Linked DNA regions of Homo sapiens: region 2 is linked to region 1. Evidence: promoter capture Hi-C in 16 types of primary human blood cells and fetal thymus (Javierre and others, 2016). All regions are on one chromosome and are shown on one strand. The core of a region is centred on a gene start or on the middle of the fragment in contact, and the rest is flanking DNA. Distances in the headings are between cores, read along the strand shown. Region 1 holds the start of C21orf91-OT1 (C21orf91 overlapping transcript 1). Region 2 has its middle 38 kb from the start of LINC01549.

Region 1 (4,062 bases), core at 1,563-4,062:
AATTATGAAAGGATGAAGTGAAATGAAAATACTGAGATGCAAGCATTATAGCCCTCCTCCAAGTTACCTTTATTTTGTGTGAGGGCTCTAGTATTCTGGTAAATAAACTCTTCCCTGCCCCATGACCACAAAACTTTACTTGGTAAGAATAAACTGTTGGGGGTTTTATCTCTTACTAATTCTCACCACAAATTTCCTCAAATAGTTACTCCCACCAACGTAAAAGTTAAAAATACAATCATACACTGAAACGGCATCAATTATCTTTGCCTTACATCTGAACAAAAAGTATTAACTTTTTTATAGCGTATTACACTTCTTAATAAGCACTTAGTAACAACATTTGTCAGTAAATGAACTGGCATACATCAGAAAAAGTTGACAATAGAAGAATTTTACATGGTACCATTTCAAATTTTCATGTACAAGTAACCCACTTTATGGTCACTAACCTGAACCTCCTAATAAGCTACACAAATAATTTACTCTTTAAAAATTCCTACTTTAGAGCATTTACATTTTATAATTTAATAATGAAAGCAGATTCTTCCAAAACAAAACAAAACCCAAACTGGGAAACATTAAAACACAAATAGATCTAAAAGCTTACTTTAAAAAAACTACAAAAATGGACTAACAAGCCTTACCAGTGTAAACACTAAGGTAAAAAATATATAAACAACATAAAGAAAACACAAAACCATTTTCAGTCATAAATATAGTAAAATGAAAAACCAAATCTCAAGATGCCTGTCAAGATATATTTGACTATATATTTTGACTATATTTCTGAAATCACTAACATGAACTTGACATTGAAAAAATAATCCTTAAATGTATATAAAAATGGGCACTTTGTGGTAAAATGAACATGTGTTTTGAAAAACTAAGAATGTGTCTTTGCTCCACCATTGTGCATAGTCAACGACACAACAAAACACTATTCTGCTGCCTGAATCATCTATTACTGGAGTCTCAAGTGCATGCCTTTTAAAAAAGACTAATTTAGATATTAATATGAGGATCAAAGGATAAGATGATAATCTCAAAGTAAAACATAATTGATTTTTAGCTTCATTATAAGGCTGAACTTTAAAGAGAACAACCTGTGTGGTCAAAAACACTTTTCTAATTTTTAAAACTCAATTTAACGTGTCAAATTATAAAACTGAACGTGAAAAAGATTTGTCTTATCTCACTCCCCTTAATCATATAAGCTCTGAAAATTTAGTAATGGATGACTGGCAGTCTGTTTTGCCACTTTTTAAACAGTAGTACATGAGATATGCTTCAAAACATTCTCAAAAATTACTAACAACTGTAGAGAATAGCCAAGTGTGGAAAACAATATTTGTGATATTTCATGTTCTCTTGTTAGAACTCAACTCTGTACCTGATACTTATATTTGCATACACAGTAATTGCATATTTGATTAAGAAAACTAACATAGGACTAAATTATAAGTTTACCAAACATTTGGATAAACTGCTGTGCAAAATACTTCAACAAAAAGTTTTTTTTACTAGGAACTCATCCAAATAAAGTAGTGTGAGTACCAGCACCACAAAGTTTTTTTTAAGAGCACCTCTCCTTTTTAGAGCTTAAGTAGAAATATCTAAATGGAATAAATCAGAGTCCCACTTAAGACCTTAGCACATGCACACGTTCATCCACTTGTTCCGTACTCATTAGCAAAGCTATGTATATTTGTCAGAAAACTCCTTTCTTTGGATAACACTGTTGTATTCAGGACTGCAACTTATGGCTCATATTCTGGAAATATGCTACTATTGATATCAAATGCAACATATCCCCAACTTTTATGACTGTCCCTAACTCATCTAAACACAAACCCAAATGTGTGCAAACACACTGGCTGGTAACAATCTTACTGAATTACGCCAAAAAAGAGTAAAGTCAAATTTGAAAATGTGGGAACAATTAAGCACTAAGATATTAATCAGGAAATGTATTTACCCAGCTTGTAAGTTTGAATATTTTGATATTGCACACATTTAATTTAAAGCTCATCAAAACTAAGGCAATGCATCCATACTCCCTGGATTTTAAATTCATTTTGCATGACTTAAAGAATTGAGAGAAATCGAAAGCATCTTTCAAAAATTCCCTCCAAAAAGTAATGTTATACTTCAAAGAAAAACAAAATCAACAGATATCAATTAATACCCTCAGGCCAATTTAACACGTCAGCATTACAAAAAGTTGTTTTCAATTAAACTGAAGTGTTTCTTTGCTTAAATACTTTCTTGTGTTCAACAACAAAATCTGACCCAAGCCAGGGTAGGCTGCCAAATTTAAGGCAAATGTCATTTATATCTTTATGCATGAAGCTGCCACGTTACTGGGCTTTTCAGCAGATACTTTCAAGCAAGGATCTACCTCATAAGTACATTCTAAACATGAGTTAAAAACAGAATTTAGAGCCCATTTTAATTCTGCATTGGTTATAGCCTTTACTGTAATACATTATTAAAATTTATCTAGCTGTTTGGCACAATCTGTTAGATAAAAACTCTTTGGAAGCATCATAGGCAACTTACGAGAACATTCTCTTAATACATAGGTTTATTTTTTTTTAATTAGGAGTTTTGCTTTTCTTCTGTAGAACAATCCTATATTTCTCTATAGAGTCTAAAGTTTAGAAAAATACCTCACAATGCTTTCTTTGAGCACTAAGTTCAATGATGGTGATAATACAATTTGGACAGTTTAAGTATTCTTGAAACTTTACCCAAAGTGGCACACAAAATAATCTTACTTTTTTTTTTCAAAGACAGAACAATTTCACAGCACACTCAATTTGAAGATAGACATTATATTTGAATTGGAAGTGAGGCTTGACTTACTCTGTCCAAATTCTAATGCATCACAGTCACTGGTGTGAAGCTAATAATGAAAGAAGCAAGAGGAGGCTTTCATTTCTATGGAGACAAATTGACATAGAAGCCAGATTAGTCTTTTCTTCCTGAACTAAGAACTGCTTTTGTTAGAAAACAAAATAATGTATTGTATTTACCTGAATACTGCTTTAAAAAGTTATTAATTCTTCTTTTACAAGAGGTATTAGAAATTAAAACAACTCAGATTTCTAATCCAAAATATATTTATCTTTGGAAAGCAAGGTAACCGTTGTGAAAACATTGTATTAAGAGAATAAAATGCAGTGACCTGAAATATGGGTGAACATATTCACACATGATAATGTAAATAAATATACAGAACCACTCAAATACACATTTATAAAGAGAATGGCAAAGTACCTAAAATAGCATTTTCACATATAAAATTTTTATATTAAAATATTGCTCATAATAAATAAGAGGTGATATGAATTCCATTTCCCTCTTAAAAATTATCTCTAGTAGTTTACACTAAGGAGTTAATCTGTTGTTTTGACAGGTGAATTAAAATGTTTAATAAAATGACACTGTAACAGTATATTTAAGTAGTCACATGTGATAAAATTTGTTTAGTAATTCTGGGAAAAAAGAGTCCCCAAATGAGCCAAAATGATTAGCCCTAGAAGACTAGAGTATAATGATCTGCTTTATTTGACAAAGATGTTAAATACTGCCTTATGTTTGGCAAATTTAATGACCATAAAAAAACGGACCACAACTTTCTTCAAACTTCTTCAAAGTTTGCATGTCTGGGAGACCAATAAAGGGCAGGGCATACGAAGTAAGTCTGTTTAGGTCAGTTGTTTATGGGTAGGTGCGACTTCATTCCTGTTCGCCCTACTTGCAGACATGGTAACTTAGAACAGTTCTTCAGAAGCTGTTCGATGGCAACGTGGCGGACATGGAGCTGTGAGGCCAAAGAATCTTTTTCTTGCACTTGGTGAGTTAACTCTTCAAAAACTTCTGTAAAAGATTTAAAAACTTTCATTTTTAGTATGCAGAAAGCCGGTGCTATGATTTATATTTCAAGAACTCTAACTGAAATCTATGCATTGGGCAAAGTGTCACAATGAAACTGATTTGATACCAAGGAAACAGTTCTGTTCTCTACAAAGCATATCAGTTCTGATCATCCTAGGC
Region 2 (4,062 bases), core at 525-3,024, 390 kb before region 1:
TGTGAAAATAAAGGGAAAAAAAACCACCCACACCTTTTCTTTCTTTGCTATGTTCTTATGGTTGCTGCTACTTCACCCAAACAGATATTGCCTTTTCTGAAGGCACCAAATACCTGTTTGTAATTTGATTTTCAGAAATCTTAGCCAACATGTTCTGATTAGGCCTAAAGAAAATACGGTGTTGCTAATACCTCTTCATCACTGACTTACCTCCTTCAGGGGTTTGGGAAAAGGCTATTTTTTTTTTCTAAATTTCATCAGTGATATACTTGTGCAAAGCCCTGTGTGAAGACTGTTATCAGAGGCTGCCTCCTGGTAGATATGGACCCCCTGCCCTCAAACTCTCTACTATAGGTACATATTTTCTTATCTTCTCTGAGCATCACTTACTTTTAAAGCCATTAAAAAAAAATTGAGAGTTACAAAAAAATTCAGTCAGCACAAATTCCTAATGAAGGTGTTCAAAGCACCTTTTTTTTCTTTTTTTAACAGAGTCTCACTCTATTGCCCAGGCTGGAGTACAGTGATGCAATCGTGGCTCACTGCAGCTAATTGTTTAATTTTTTCTAAAGGCAGGGTCTTGCTGTGTTGCCCAGGCTGGTCTCAAACTCCTTATCTCAAGCAATCCTCCCACCTCGGCCTCTCAAAATGCTGCAAATACAGGCATGAACCACTGCATCGGCCTATAACTTTTTTTTTTGAGACAGAGTCTTGCTCTGTTGCCCAGGCTGGAGTGCAGTGGTGCAATCTCAGCTCACTGCAACCTCCACCTCCGGGATTCAAGTGATTCTCTTGCCTCAGCCTCCCAAGTTACTGGGATTACAGATGTGCACCACCACACCCAGCTAATTTTTAGTAGAGATGGAGTTTTGCCATGTTGGCCAGGCTGGTCTCCAACTCCAGACCTCAGGTGATCCACCCACCTCGGCCTCCCAAAGTGCTGGGATTACAGGCATGAGCCACCATGCCTAGCTGCGCGTTTTTTTTTTAATAGACTCCACTATAAAACATTTACTAATTCAACTCACATCCTTGAACTTAAAAACAGAGAAACAATCTAACTTACTGTCAACAATTGCTACAGGCCATGGGATGCCCCCTGCTTTTATGGCACCATGGACCCAGCATTTAGGGGAGGCAGTAGAGACACATCTAGGACTGAATTCCTACTCCACAAGTGTCTAGCTGTGTAATTTTTTAGGTATTAATCATGCCATACCTCAGTTTCTCTATCTGTAAAGTAAAAACTGTAAGGCCCAGCCAGGCACCGTGACTCATGCCTGTAATCACAATACTTTGAGAGGCTGAGGCAGGTGGATCACCTGAGGTCAGGAGTTCGAGACCAGCCTTATCAACATAGCAAAACACCATCTCTAACAAAAACTAGCCGGGTGTGGTTGCGTAAACCTGTAATCCCAGATACTCAGGAGGCTGAGGCAGGAGAATTGCTTGAACCCGTCAGGTGGAGGTTGGGTTGCAGTGAGCTGAGAGATCACACCACTTCAACTTCACTCCAGCCTGGGCAAAAAAGCGAAACTCCGTCAAACAAAAGAAAAGAAAGAAAGAAAGGAAAGAAAGGCAAGAAAGAAAGAAAGAAAGAAAGAAAAGAAAGAAAGAAAGAAAGAAAGAAAGAAAGAAAGAAAGAAAGAAAGAAAGAAATAAAGAAAGAAAGAAAGAAGAAAGAAAGAAAGAAAAGATAAAACAGTAAGGCCTTCACATATGCTTTACCACAGTAAGTGGCTTACTTCAGTAAGGCAATCAACAAACACAGAACTCTCTTTCCTCTTATTTCTTGAGGCATGGGGAAAGAGTATGCAGGCATGCCTACTTTCCCTTTCACATGACCCAGGTTCTGCACTGTCTCCTCTTATTTGGGATATGAGAAGAAAGGGAAGATGTTAGCCAATGAAAGACATCCTTGTGAGCTTGCATTCAATTCACATTAAAGGATCTGGAAAATCAGATCAACCCCCTGGGTTCTGCCCTTTCACTCAAGAGTCTGGACTTTGTTAAATCACCGGCAGATATATATTTTTTTTCGGTGACACTGTCAAATCAAAGGCCAGTGAGAGCTAGCAGGATTTCTCTCTTTGAAAAGGGTTTCTAAACAGAAATTACAGGACAATAGTAATTCACTTGTGTCCCTTTAGGAAACGCAGTAAAGAAAAACCATAAGCCATACAACAGACAAATAAATTAGCAGATTATAACCAGGAATTCCTCATCTTTTCTTCTTGGGTATTGTCTATATTATGATCTTGCATTTGTATAGAATAGAATACACAAAAATCTTAGGGCCTAGAATATTAGAGGCACTTAAAACCAGTAACCCCAATTTACAGATATAGAAACTGTTCACAGAGATCAATAGCCTTTTCCAACTTACTACAGCTTATTAGCAGTGGGTCTTATTTCTATCCATGCACTTTACTCTTTAGCTTGCAATTCACCAGCTTTAGCTTGCAATTTCAGACACAATGCAATTCATACACAATGCAATTCACAATTTAGCTTGCAATTCACTAGCTTTAGCTTGCAATTTCATACACAATGCAATTGTGTATGAAAACTGTATTTTTGCGTGCCACAGATTTATATAACTATATTATTCTGTGATTTAGGAATGAGCTAATAGGCTTTACTTTTATTTTAAGGAACTCTCAATAAAAGTTCTGCTTTTTATTTAAGTAAAAAATGTTAAAGGGCCGAGCACAGTGGCTCACACCTGTAATCCCAGCACTTTGGGAGGCTGAGGCAGGTGGATCACTTGAGATCAGGAGTTCAAGACCAGCCTGACCAACATGGTGAAATCCTGTTTCTACCAAGAAATACAAAAATTAGCCAGGTGTGGTGGTGCGCACCTGTAGTCCCAGCTACTCAGGAGGCTGAGGTGGGAGAATCGCTGTAACTCAGGAGGCGGAGGTTACAGTAAGCGGAGATCACACCACTGCACTCCAGCCTGGGTGACAGAGTAAGATCCTGTCTCAAAAAAAAAAAAAAGTTAAAGGGTGAGTGTAAAAGGAAAGGCTGGGTGTTTGGGGAATCAAATAGAAAATAAGGAAATTGTCTAACACTTCATTGGCAAGTCTAGAAATAAAAACGAGACTGTTTTTTCTGTTTCTTTCCTCCTTTGTATTGTCCTTAGGTTCCTCTCTGAAGGCAGAAATGTCAAAGATGCTTTGCTAAAACCCAAAAAGTTGCTATGCAACCTACATTTAAAATTATTTCTTCCTACCTAGAATCCCAGGGATCTATAATTTTGCCATCTAAGAGAGAAACATGCCACGTCAGAAGGAAGGAGAATATGACAGCAGATTTTGGAATCAATTGTCAATGTAGTTTGCTAGCTTATCATGGTTTCTTAGACACTGTGTGAGCAAATCTCACAAATGGAACTGATTTACCATAAAAATGTGCCTAATTTCCATTAAATCTTGTTCGTTGCTTTACTGAGGCACTGAAGTTACCAATGTTCCACTGGTTGACCTGCGGGGCTATCTCTAGGTTATGTTACTCCAGAAAATGAATTGTGTATAAAAGAGGCCTTGGAGGAAGGCGTTTTATTCGCATCAGTTGTTTTGCACATTGCTTAAGCTAGAGATGTTAGCAGCTTCTTAAAGAGAGCAGCGTTAGCCAGACCTTTGGGGCAATAGTGGGAAATGGAAGTTTCTCTGTCCTATGCTTGATAGAACCATGTCGGTTGAGACACGTTTCTATCATGCATAGGGCAGGGTATAAGAAATCTGTTTTCAGAGACTTCATGGGATAAATGAAGGCTTAAGAGCCCTTCATATCTCAGTTAAAATCCCAGAGCTGCTATTTGCCCTTGATGAAGTTAACCTTCAAAAGTCATTTCCTTCTTCTAGAATAGGCATGAACCAACTCAAGGGGTTATGATGAGAATTAAATTTTAAAATCATATGTAAGGTGCTCATCCCAGATGTGGTCATCAGTATGTACATAACAAATGCCAGCAATCTTTTTGATTACAGTGATGATGATTATTCTAATTGAGGCACTGCAATTTACCAGCAGTGTGTCCTTGAAAGCACATTTTCTTCA

What was found. Contacts are between HindIII fragments. The CHiCAGO score rates a contact against its expected background, and 5 or more counts as called.
Region 2: a contact is called between a fragment that was not itself captured here and the fragment with the promoter of C21orf91-OT1 in region 1, in 2 of 17 cell types (M0 macrophages and M1 macrophages). The highest score is 5.4, in M0 macrophages.

What each region holds. Positions count from the first base shown.
Region 1 is chr21:17,789,697-17,793,758 of GRCh38, forward strand. C21orf91-OT1 (C21orf91 overlapping transcript 1) reads right to left here and starts at 2,813. Exons shown (of 4, transcript NR_038871.1): 1 at 2,781-2,813. It overlaps C21orf91 (chromosome 21 open reading frame 91), which reads right to left. Exons shown (of 5, transcript NM_001100420.2): 5 at 1-3,885. The coding sequence ends at 3,719. All of the region lies in intron 2 of LOC124900465 (a long non-coding RNA gene), which reads left to right. The HindIII fragment of the contact is 3,892 bases long and covers 604-4,062 here.
Region 2 is chr21:17,398,513-17,402,574 of GRCh38, forward strand. No RefSeq gene overlaps it. Among named protein-coding and RNA genes, the nearest start is that of LINC01549, 38 kb to the right of the region's middle. The HindIII fragment of the contact is 9,913 bases long and covers 1-4,062 here.